Linked DNA regions of Homo sapiens: all the other regions are linked to region 1. The links are contacts of gene promoters, found by promoter capture Hi-C in human tissues and cell types (Jung and others, 2019). All regions are on one chromosome and are shown on one strand. The core of a region is centred on a gene start or on the middle of the fragment in contact, and the rest is flanking DNA. Distances in the headings are between cores, read along the strand shown.

What was found. The method cuts DNA at HindIII sites, captures the fragments that hold promoters and counts their contacts. A contact is called where the count stands out against the background at its distance.
Region 2: a fragment that was not itself captured here is called in contact with the fragment with the promoter of IGFBP4 in region 1 in 2 of the 25 tissues and cell types used here (neural progenitor cells and spleen).
Region 3: a fragment that was not itself captured here is called in contact with the fragment with the promoter of IGFBP4 in region 1 in 1 of the 25 tissues and cell types used here (spleen).

The regions. Positions count from the first base shown.
Region 1 is chr17:40,442,081-40,445,472 of GRCh38, reverse strand. IGFBP4 (insulin like growth factor binding protein 4) reads right to left here and starts at 2,023. Exons shown (of 4, transcript NM_001552.3): 1 at 1,389-2,023. The coding sequence starts at 1,737. RefSeq lists silencers at 1,817-1,866, 1,877-1,926, 1,937-2,126. The HindIII fragment of the contact is 6,489 bases long and covers 532-3,392 here.
Region 2 is chr17:40,264,251-40,267,584 of GRCh38, reverse strand. It overlaps WIPF2 (WAS/WASL interacting protein family member 2), which reads right to left. Exons shown (of 8, transcript NM_133264.5): 5 at 2,439-3,095. Among named protein-coding and RNA genes, the nearest start is that of CDC6, 22 kb to the left of the region's middle. The HindIII fragment of the contact is 4,401 bases long and covers 1-3,334 here.
Region 3 is chr17:40,241,693-40,244,890 of GRCh38, reverse strand. The region is part of intron 1 of WIPF2 (WAS/WASL interacting protein family member 2); the gene reads right to left. It also overlaps the pseudogene RNY4P8. Among named protein-coding and RNA genes, the nearest start is that of WIPF2, 24 kb to the right of the region's middle. The HindIII fragment of the contact is 7,181 bases long and covers 1-3,198 here.

The sequences.
Region 1 (3,392 bases), core at 774-3,273:
GGGTTTGGGTCCCAGGACAGGAAGCTTGGGGCTGGAGTCCCAGCATCCGGACTGCAACAATGGAAGCTTCAAGCACCAGGAAAAGAGACAGAGACAGACAGAGGCACAGGAGAGCAAAACAGGGTCGGAGATGGAATGAGAAACAGAGGCATAGATACAGAAAGACAGACAGAGAGATTCCCAAAGTAACAGGGAAAGACCAACAGTGACAGAGACACAGAGAAACAGCAACAGAAAGAGAGGGAGAGAAGCAGAGCAACTGAAACAGAAACACAGAATAAGGTGGAGAAAGAAACGCACGATGGGCAGAAGACACTGAGGAAAACAGAACTCGAGAGCATGACTAGTGAAACTAGAGGTTGAGAGACAAATCAGGAAGAACAAAAGAGCAAGAGAAAGAAGGAAAAGAGACTGAGAGTCTAAGGAGAAACTGAGAAACAAAAAAAGAAAGTGTAAGAATGAGGTTAGGGCAAGGGCCTTCTCAGAGTCTCTCTCTCTCTCTCTCTCTCTCTCTCTCTCTCTCTCTCTCTCTCTCTCTCTGTCTCTGTGTGTGTGTGTGTGTGTGTGTGTGTGTGTGTGTGTGTGTGTTTCTCTCTCTCTCTCTCTCTCTCTCTGTTTCTCTCCCCTGGCGCCCTGGCCCCTTCTCTATTCCCTATCCCACACACATGAGGCTCCTGCAGCTCTCGGCTAGGAGCCAAGACTTTTCTACCACCTCAAATCCTACCTGCCTGGAGAAAAGAACAGGGGGCCTGTATACCAGGGCAGGCAGAGGTGTCCAGGCCTGGCAGAGGGACCCCTGTCTTCCCACTGCCTCTCAAACAACAAGGTGACCTGGCTCTGGGCTTTGGGGAAGGGCAAGTCTAATGCCCCTCAACGCCAAAGTCCCTCTAATTTGTATGTCCCACTCCACCACTGGACCATGTAAAAAAAAAGTTCAGGCCCTGGCTCCCCAGACCACTGGGATTTCACCCTCGGCCTGGATCAGGAACAGAAAGCTTTCCCCACTCCCTCATCCTCCCCAACACACACCCCACCACCATCCTCCAGTTCTCTGGCCCTAGACAGCTGACTTAACTGGACCTTAATCTGCCACTCCTGCACCAGCAGCCAGGCCTCCCACTGGGACCCCCTTATCAAACAGACAACCCTTGGAGGTTTGAGATGGAGCGATGGGACAGTCTCCCTTGGTGGTGGCAACAGGCTGCTAGGGACTCGGTAGCAGTTTCCTTGATGAGCCTGTCCCATGCCAGTCGGGCCCTGCCACGTACCTGCCTTCTCTTCAACTCATAGGGGATTTTTAAGGGCCTTCCAGGGCGGCTGGAATGGGGAAGAAGCCGCTGGGAAGGGAGCGCACTCAGGAGGGAATTGGGAGGCCAGGGGTACCTTACCAGAGGGCTGCAGGCTTTCCTGGATGGCCTCGATCTCCGCCAGCTCCATGCACACGCCTTGCCCGTGCATCAGTGTGTGCAGGGGCTTCTCCACCCCTCGGGGCGGGTAGCAGCGCAGGCCCGAGCCGCAACGGGGGGTGTACACCCCGCAGGGCATCCCCAAGCCCAGGGCGCAAGTGGCGCAACAGCCGCAGCCCGGCTCTCGCACCAGCTCCTCGCAGCCCACGGGGGGGCGGCAGCGCGCCAGCTTCTCCTCGGAGCAGGGCGGGCAGTGGATGGCTTCGTCGCCCAGGCTCGGCCCGGGCCCGGCGGCCAGCAGCAGGGCGGCCACGAGGCAGAGGGGCAGCATGACCGCCCGAGGACTGGGCGCGGGCGCGGGGCGCTGGGCGCAGGCGGGGAGCGCGGGCGCGCGGGCGAGCGGCGGAGGGCACACGGCGGCAGCGCCTGGCGCTCCTGGAGGACCCGACCCGGAGGGCGCGGGGAGACGGGGCGGCCCGGCGGGCGAACGGGGACGTAGCGGGGGAAGTTAGCAGGCGTGCCGGAGGGGAGCAAGCCTGGCCGCCGAGGCGCTGCGCCGCATCCTCGGCCCGGCCCAGGCAGGCGGCGGGCGGCGAGGGGCAGGGGGCTGAGCGGCTGCCCGGGACCGGCTCCCCCGGACTTTATACCGGTCCCTGGCCACACCCCCAGCGCCTTCCCAGAGGTGGGGGAGCCGGGGCGGGCGAGGGGGAGAGGGAGAGGCGGCCGTTAGGGGGAGGGGGCGCTGTCCTGAGTCGCCGCCGCCGCCGCCGCCGCATCTGAAAGTCCTTTTCTGCCGAAGAAGGAAGCGGCGCAGTTTGGAAGCTGTAGCAGGCGCCCAGAGTGCCTCTGAACCGGAGCCCCGGAGGGGAGGCAAGGGAGAAGGGAAGCCAAGGGGCTGCTGCGGGGCCCCCTTTCCCGACCTCGGAGGAGTCTCGTCCCGCCCCGCCAAGGCGGCCTCAGTCTCCCACCGAGAAAGGGACTTCCTAGCCCGGACTCCCGGCTCTGCGGATCCGGTCTTCCTGGACAGAGCCCTTTCCACCGCACCCCGGTGCTTCCAGCCTCAACCGCTGGAGACCAAGCCTCCTGAGGTGGGGTAAAGCGTACAGGCACAGCTAGGGGCACAGAAAGGCCTGGAGGCCCTAAGACGTTAACAGGCTCTTGCCACTTGCCCCTTGCAACCTCTCCCGCCCCCGCAATCTCCCCAGGGCGCATTTGGGCCCTGGTCCACCCTGCTTCCCCAAGATGGAATCAGCAGAACTCCCGGGGAGGGAGGTGCCGCCGAGCCTCTTCCTCCTTCTTGGATGTTTGCCTCTCAGGCCCATTCAGACCCACTCGTGGAGGGAGGCAGGCCTGGGAGATTGCCACTTGCAATGTGCAAGTTTTGCGTTGAACAACTCCAGTGGGGCACCATTCCTTGTAATCATTGTGTATTTGTAGAGCTGTTGTGATCATTTCCCAGATGGCAGTGAAGGATTTGAGGGGCCTGCAGCAGTGACTCACACCTGTAATGTCAGCACTTTTGGAGGCTGAGGCGGGAGGATCACTTGAGCCCAGGAGTTCAAGACCAGTCTGGGCAACGTAGTGAGACCTTGTCTCTACAAAAAAATTTTAAAATTAGCCAGGTGTGGTGGCGTTCACCTGTGGTCCCAGGTACTCGGGAGCCTGAGGCAAGAGGATCACTTGAGCCCAGGAGTTGGAGGCTGCAGTGAGCTAGAATTGTACCACTGCACACCAGCCTAGGTGAAAGAAGGAAACTCTGTCTAAAAAAGAAAGAAAGAAAGAAGGCCGGGCGCGGTGGCTCACGCCTGTAATCCCAGCACTTTGGGAGGCCGAGGCGGGCAGATCACGAGGTCAGGAAATCGAGACCATCCTGGCTAGCACGGTGAAACCCCCTCTCTACTAAAAATACAAAAAGTTAGCCGGGCGTGGTGGCGGGTGCCTGTAGTCCCAGCTACTAGGGAGGCTGAGGCAGGAGAATGGCATGAT
Region 2 (3,334 bases), core at 68-2,567, 180 kb after region 1:
CTGGGCGAAAGAGCAAGGCTCTGTCTCAAAACACAAACAAACAAATAAATAAATAAAGGCCAAGAAGCTGTTTGTGGAGGGTATGTCTCAAAGTCTAATGATACAACGATATGGGAGCCAAAATTCCCATGTCCAATAAGGCCCCAGAGAGCTGTCACGGTCTCCCTCACTCTAAAATTTCAGTTATGCTAATTATAACGAGATTACACAACCTCTTCTTTTTCCAGGGTTCCTAAATTCCCTCCTCACCCAGCTTAGGCTCCATTATTGCAATCACTCCCTCACATACACCCTTCCCTTCCTGCCCCACTCTCCCTTAGAGTCGCACATGCCTAAAACATGCTAACGCTGGTTAAACACAGCTCTACTCTTTTTCTGTACCTGCAAATCACAACTGAACACATGAGACTAATTAATCTCACATGAAATGTATGGCCCATAATCTCAAGTGGGCCCTTCGCGTGGTTGCCTATCTGAGCACACTTCCCTAGTCCACCCACACTCCCACGCTCCAGATGACCATTTCATGCCTCTTCTCTCTCCTCAACTCTCCTTCTCCTTCCCTCGCCTCAATCACAGCTGATGCTCTTGCTTTCCATTTCACTGAGAAAACAGAAGCAAATTAGAATAAACTTTCCACATGCTTCTACCACTACACCCACCTACCCACTTGCTTCTAAGCCTATATGCTCTGCCTCCCCTCTTGTTACTATGGAAGAACTATGTTCCTATCTAAGGCCAACCCTTTTTATCTATCGATCACATTCTCTTTTCTCTGGCCTCCTCCAGGTCATTATTCAGGCAATCTGTTCCCTCTCTTCTGATTCAATTTTTTCCCTCTCTCCTAAGTTTCATGCTACTCATTCCATCAGCATACAAATAGGTCTCCCATCTTGGGATGGGAAAAAAACAACTCTCAACCCCACATCTTCGTCCAACAATCACTTCACTTATCTTCACCCCTCTCTCCTGGACTTTACAGCGAACTCTTTAAGAGATTTCTATATTGCTATCTCCAATTTCTCTCCTCCTATTCCTGCATTCTTGAACCCACTCCAATTAAGCTTTCACTTTCACCCTCCACCACTCCACTGAAACTACTCAAAAGGGTCCCATGATACTAAGACCAATGCCAGTTCTTGGTCTTTAACTTACCTGACCCATCTGCAGCACTGGGCACAGCTGACCACTTACTCTACCTTGGAGTTTTTCCATCACATTCTTGGTTTTTCTCCTTCCATCCTCACTAGAAGCTTTTCTGTTTCCTCTGCTGGGTATTCTTCATCTCTTTTGCCTCTAATGTAGGAGGGCGAGGGCTCAGCCCTCATTTTTTTTTTTTTTTTTTTTGAGATGGACTGTCACTCTGTCGCCCAGGCTGGAGTGCAGTGGCGTGATCTCGGCTCACTGCAACCTCTGCCTCCTGAGTTCAAGCGATTCTCCTGCCTCAGCCTCCTAGGCCTCTTCTTATCTATATTCACTCCTTAGGTGACTTCATCCAGCATGTGGTTTTCAACACCATTCAAATGTATCTCTCTAGCCGAAACCTCTCCCCTCAACTTTGGAGTCTGATAGCCAATTACCAATTCATTGTCTCTTCTTGATTACCTAACAGGCATCTCAAACTTGTCTCAAACTGAACACCTATCTTCCCACAAATTCACAGTAGTCCTAACCATCTGGCCGTTTACTGCAACAGCCCAGTAACTGGTCTCCTTTTGTCACCTTTGTCCTCCTGCGGTCTGTTCTCAACATAGGAGTTAATGATCTTTTTAAAAGGTGAATCAAATCATACTACTTCTCTGTTTAAAACCCTCCAGTGGCTTCCCATCTCACACAGTTAAATCCAAGGTCTTTGCAAAATCCTGCAGTGCGCTCTCCCCTGCAGCTCCAGCTTTCCAACCTCCAAGTCCTACCACTCTTCCCTCCCCTCACTCTTTGTAGTCTTGCCACAATGGCCCCCTTGCTGTCCCCAAAATGTTTCAAGAATACTTCTGCCTTATGGCCTCTGCATTTGTTGTTCCCACTGCCTGCAACAGCTGTTCTCCTAGATAACTACTAAGCTTACTCGTCACTTTCTTAAGGTCTTTGTCAAATTTTCACCGTATCAGTAAGGACTGTCCTGACTCTCTCCCCACTCCTCCAATTAAAGATATCATCATCCCGACCTCCGCCCCAGTATATCTTATTCCTCTCCTCTGCTTTGTAATTCTCTAAAGCATACTGCATACTATGTATTTATATATTTTACTAGTTTGACTGTCAAATTTTTTTGTCTTTTCTATTTATTGCTATTTCCCTACCAACAGACCTGACACATAAAAAGGTACTCAATAAACCCACTGAGTGAATAAACGAATTACTGTCTTCAAGGAGTGCTCTGGGGAAAGATAAAATCAACTCACAGCATGATAGGGAAAAAGGTGCTTCCAAGCACTTACCTGCTCCCCGACTGGGAGGGTCTCGGGCTGGGGGAGGTGGCCTATTACTCAGTAAAGATGGGGAGGCCGAGGTGGGTGGAGGAGGTGCTAGGCCTCTGACAGGCCCTGGTGTCTTCCTATGCAAAGAATTGTGTCTCTGTGGCAGCTCAGGGGCTGACTCATTAGTGGGGCTAGAGGGTCCATTGGGGACCCCAGGAGGCTGGCGGTAAGGCGGAGGAGGAGGAGCCAGAGACTGGCCACTTGGTCCTGTTCTGATATTCACAGGGGAAGGAGGTGGTTTGACTGGGGGTGGAGCAGGAGGTCCCTCTCGACCAGGGTGAAGCCTTTGTCCAGGCGTCGGTGGCAAGGGTTTCTCTCTGTTGTAGGCGGGGGCTTTGCTGCTGTGCATAGGCAGAGGTGTGGGGGGTGCGTTGGCACGCCGCCCTGGGGGTGGTGGGGGAGGGGCAGAGGAGCTGTGCTTCATGCCCGTACTGCTGGTGGTATTAGGCCGAGAGAGGTCCGGTAAAGAGGGTCTCTGCATCCGGGGCAGTTCTGGGAGTGAGGCCCGGCTGCTGTCTGTATCATCCTGAGGACGCCCGCTGGCGGCAGATACTGGAGGCCTTGGGGCAGCAGCTCGAGAACTGGGGATTTGCAGGGCTGGCTTACCAGCTAGGTTCTCTACAAATACATAGACAACACAGGGTCAACAGAGCTGGACAGATATTGGTCAGTATCCCTACTTCACTCGGCTCCTTAGTGCAACCTGCATGGCAGCAGGGAAAGGAATTGAATAATTCTGGGTTTTTTGTTTTTCTTTTTTTTTTTTTTTTTTTTTTTTTTTGAGACGAAGTTTCGCTGTTGTTGCCTAGGCTGGAGTGCAATGGTGCAATCTCAGCTCACTGCAACCTCTGGGTTCA
Region 3 (3,198 bases), core at 4-2,503, 200 kb after region 1:
GAGAGTATCTGGCTCTCCCAAGAAGTCTCTCCATGAGCAGAGCATGCCATGTAAACATCTGGGGAAAGAGCATTCCGAAAAGAAATAACAGCAAGTGAAAAAATTCTAACATGGGAATGTAGTTGGTGTGTTAGAGAACTAGTAAAAAGACCAGGATAGCTAGAACAGAGTGAGAAGAGATGAAATCTGAGGCTTTATATATAGGCCATCCTCCAAATCCAAAAGTAGTCCCCTTCTCTGTCCAATACACCAACACTGTAAAACCAAAGAAACCTAAATGAACCGACAGCTTCACACTCAAACCAGAAGTTCGATCGGTTATCTCATTAATCCCACAGACTATACTTGATCTCCTGGCTTAATCTCATCCAGAGACTAAGTACTAACTGAAGGCCTTCCAGGGTTAAAAGTCACCTGTTGGTAATCTGCCCACCTGTTCAGCTGTCCTTCAGCTTTGCTCCTGAAAAGCAATCCAGCATGGGAGGTAGGAGCTCATTACTACAATGGCATAATGGCATCCAGTCCCTAGGCCAAAGAACCCCAAAATGAGAAAAGAGCCAGGAGCTGCCTAAGAGTAGTCACATGCCACTCCAGGAGCCAACAACGGCAGGAACCAAACAGGTTCCTATAATCACACAGGGAATAATGTCAAGAGGAATGAAAAACTTGCCTCCATGTGTTCTAGGACAGACTATAACAGAGGGTTTCCACTAAAGTGTTTCTGGTTTCTCTAAAGTACAAGGAAACAGACTAGAATAACATTCATGTTACACACATTTTACCACTACCACTCCAAAAAAAGGCTTTTTCTATAGCTCACAGCCCTCTCCTCTCAATGGAGAAAGTGCCACCACTTCTTGAAATTCAATTCAGTCAAACCTCTGGTGAAACAGATTTCTATCACATGTAGAGATGGAATTAATTAAAATTCCAAGGTTACTTAAGGGAAAAAAATTTTTCAACTACAGAAATTTTCATCACAGAAATTCAACTATGCAGCAAATCTGACTGATCCAACAAGTAATAAAAAAAATCACATAACCATCATGAATATTAAAACTGAAAAATCGGGCCGGGCGTGGTGGCTCACTCCTGTAATCCCAGCACTTTGGGAGGTGGAGGTGGGTGGATCACCCGAGGTCAGGAGTTTTAGACCAGCCTGGCCAATACAGAGAAACCCCATCTCTACTTAAAAAAAAAAAATACAAAATTAGCCGGGTGTGGTGGCGTATGCCTGTAATCCCAGCTACTCAGGAGGCTGAGGCAGGAGAATTGCTTGAACCCGGTAGGCAGAGGTTGCAGTGAGCCGAGATGGCACCATTGCACTCCAGCCTGGGCGACAGAGCAAGACTCTGTCTTAAAAAAAAAAACCTGAAAAATCCTAGGACTTCTACAACAAATGAAACCTGGATGTTTTACTCCTCTCTGAAAGAGAAAATGAAGGAGGAAGAAGATATAACTACTGAATGATGAAATTCTTTCAAACATATTTTTTTAACAAAAACATAATGCATCCCCAAAACGCAGCTTTCCCCACTAATGTGACTCTTTCCTCTTCCCCCAGATTTTTTTTAAAGCCAGTCAAATTTAGCAGTGGGGGGTTTGTATACCAACTGCAGTGACACTAATGTTAATAAGCTCTGATAACCCACTACCATCAGACCAGCCCCAGATTATTTTTTTAAAGCCCTAAAAATGTAAATTCGGAAGACTACCTTCATATACTACCTTATGTGGTAAATATTAGATACTATGGGTTATTCCCAGATACAAGGCAGCCCAGGAGCTGAGTCCTCTCATCTAAAATGATGACAAATCAATGAGAAGTCTACTCCTGTGTTCAATTAAATAACCAGAGCTGCAAAGAAAGCTTCATTTAAAAAGACAGACTAGGAATAACTAATGCAAAAGCCATGTAAATTAAATATCTGAAAATCATCCAAAACAGAAGTCAGGGAATGACCTCACGCCCAACCCCTCAAGGCAAAGAAAAAATCTCATTATCCTGAAAGCACTGAAGTACAGCACTGGGAGATAGGCGGACGTGTACAGAAAATAGTCAACTGCAGTAAATCAGTAATAGTTCAAAGTCATGCCTTATAACACAGCCAGTGACCAATAATCAATGAGACAATAACACTTTCGATGTAGCTTTGTTTTTGTGACTTTGTTCATCAAAACTGTTTCTTGGCCAGGCACAGTGGCTCATGCCTGTAATCCCAGCACTCTGGAAGGCCGAGGCAGGTGGATTACCTAAGGTCAGGAGTTTGAGACCGGCCTGGCCAACATGGTGAAACCCCGTCTGTACTAAAAATACAAAAAAATTAGCCAGGCGTGGCGGCGGGCGCCTGTAATCCCAGCTACTCGGGAGGCTGAGGCAGGAGAATCACTTGAACTCGGCAGGCGGAGGTTGCAGCGAGCTGAGATTGTGCCACTGGGTAACAGAGTGAGACTGTCTCAAAAAACAAACCAACAACAACAACAACAACAAAAAATTTCTTGGTTTTTCTTTCTTTCTTCCTTGAGAAAGGGTCTCACCCTACAACCCAGATTGCAGTGCAAGTGGCACAATCACAGCTCACTGCAGCCTTAACCTCCCAGGCTCAAGCAATCTTCTCACCTCAGCCTCCCGAGTAGCTGGGACTACCACATCCAGCTAATCGTTTTATTTTGATTGCAAAGACAGGATCTCACTATGTTGCTCAGGCCAGTCTCAAACTCCTGACCTCAAACAATCCTCCTGCCATAGCCTTCCAAAAAACTGTTTCAATGGAAGTTGTAAAATTGTATTACAGCTATTTCTATAGAGCTGCTCATCTTAGAATGCAAATCAACTCTATGTCAGAGCCAACATGGCCTCCTCAGCTGTATTTTAGTTAATAACAGCCACAAGATTTCCAAGAACTGAGAACTAGGGTACCACAGTTAGCCTCTGCAACACTGCTAAGACAAGTACTATTTGGCTCTTAACCTCTAAGCAATTCACAACCAAGGAGCAGCTGCAAACACATTTCCAGATACTTTACAGACTGGCAGCAAAAGATACAACCCTTTTTCTTTTCTAGGCGTAGGAATCTATAATACAAAAGGGAGAATTGTGTCCTTTTGATTGTAAAGTTAAAAACAAACTTCAAATCACAGTGCTTCAACATCTCCAAAAATGACGCTGCATAAACCCAAGGCAGATTAGGACATCTG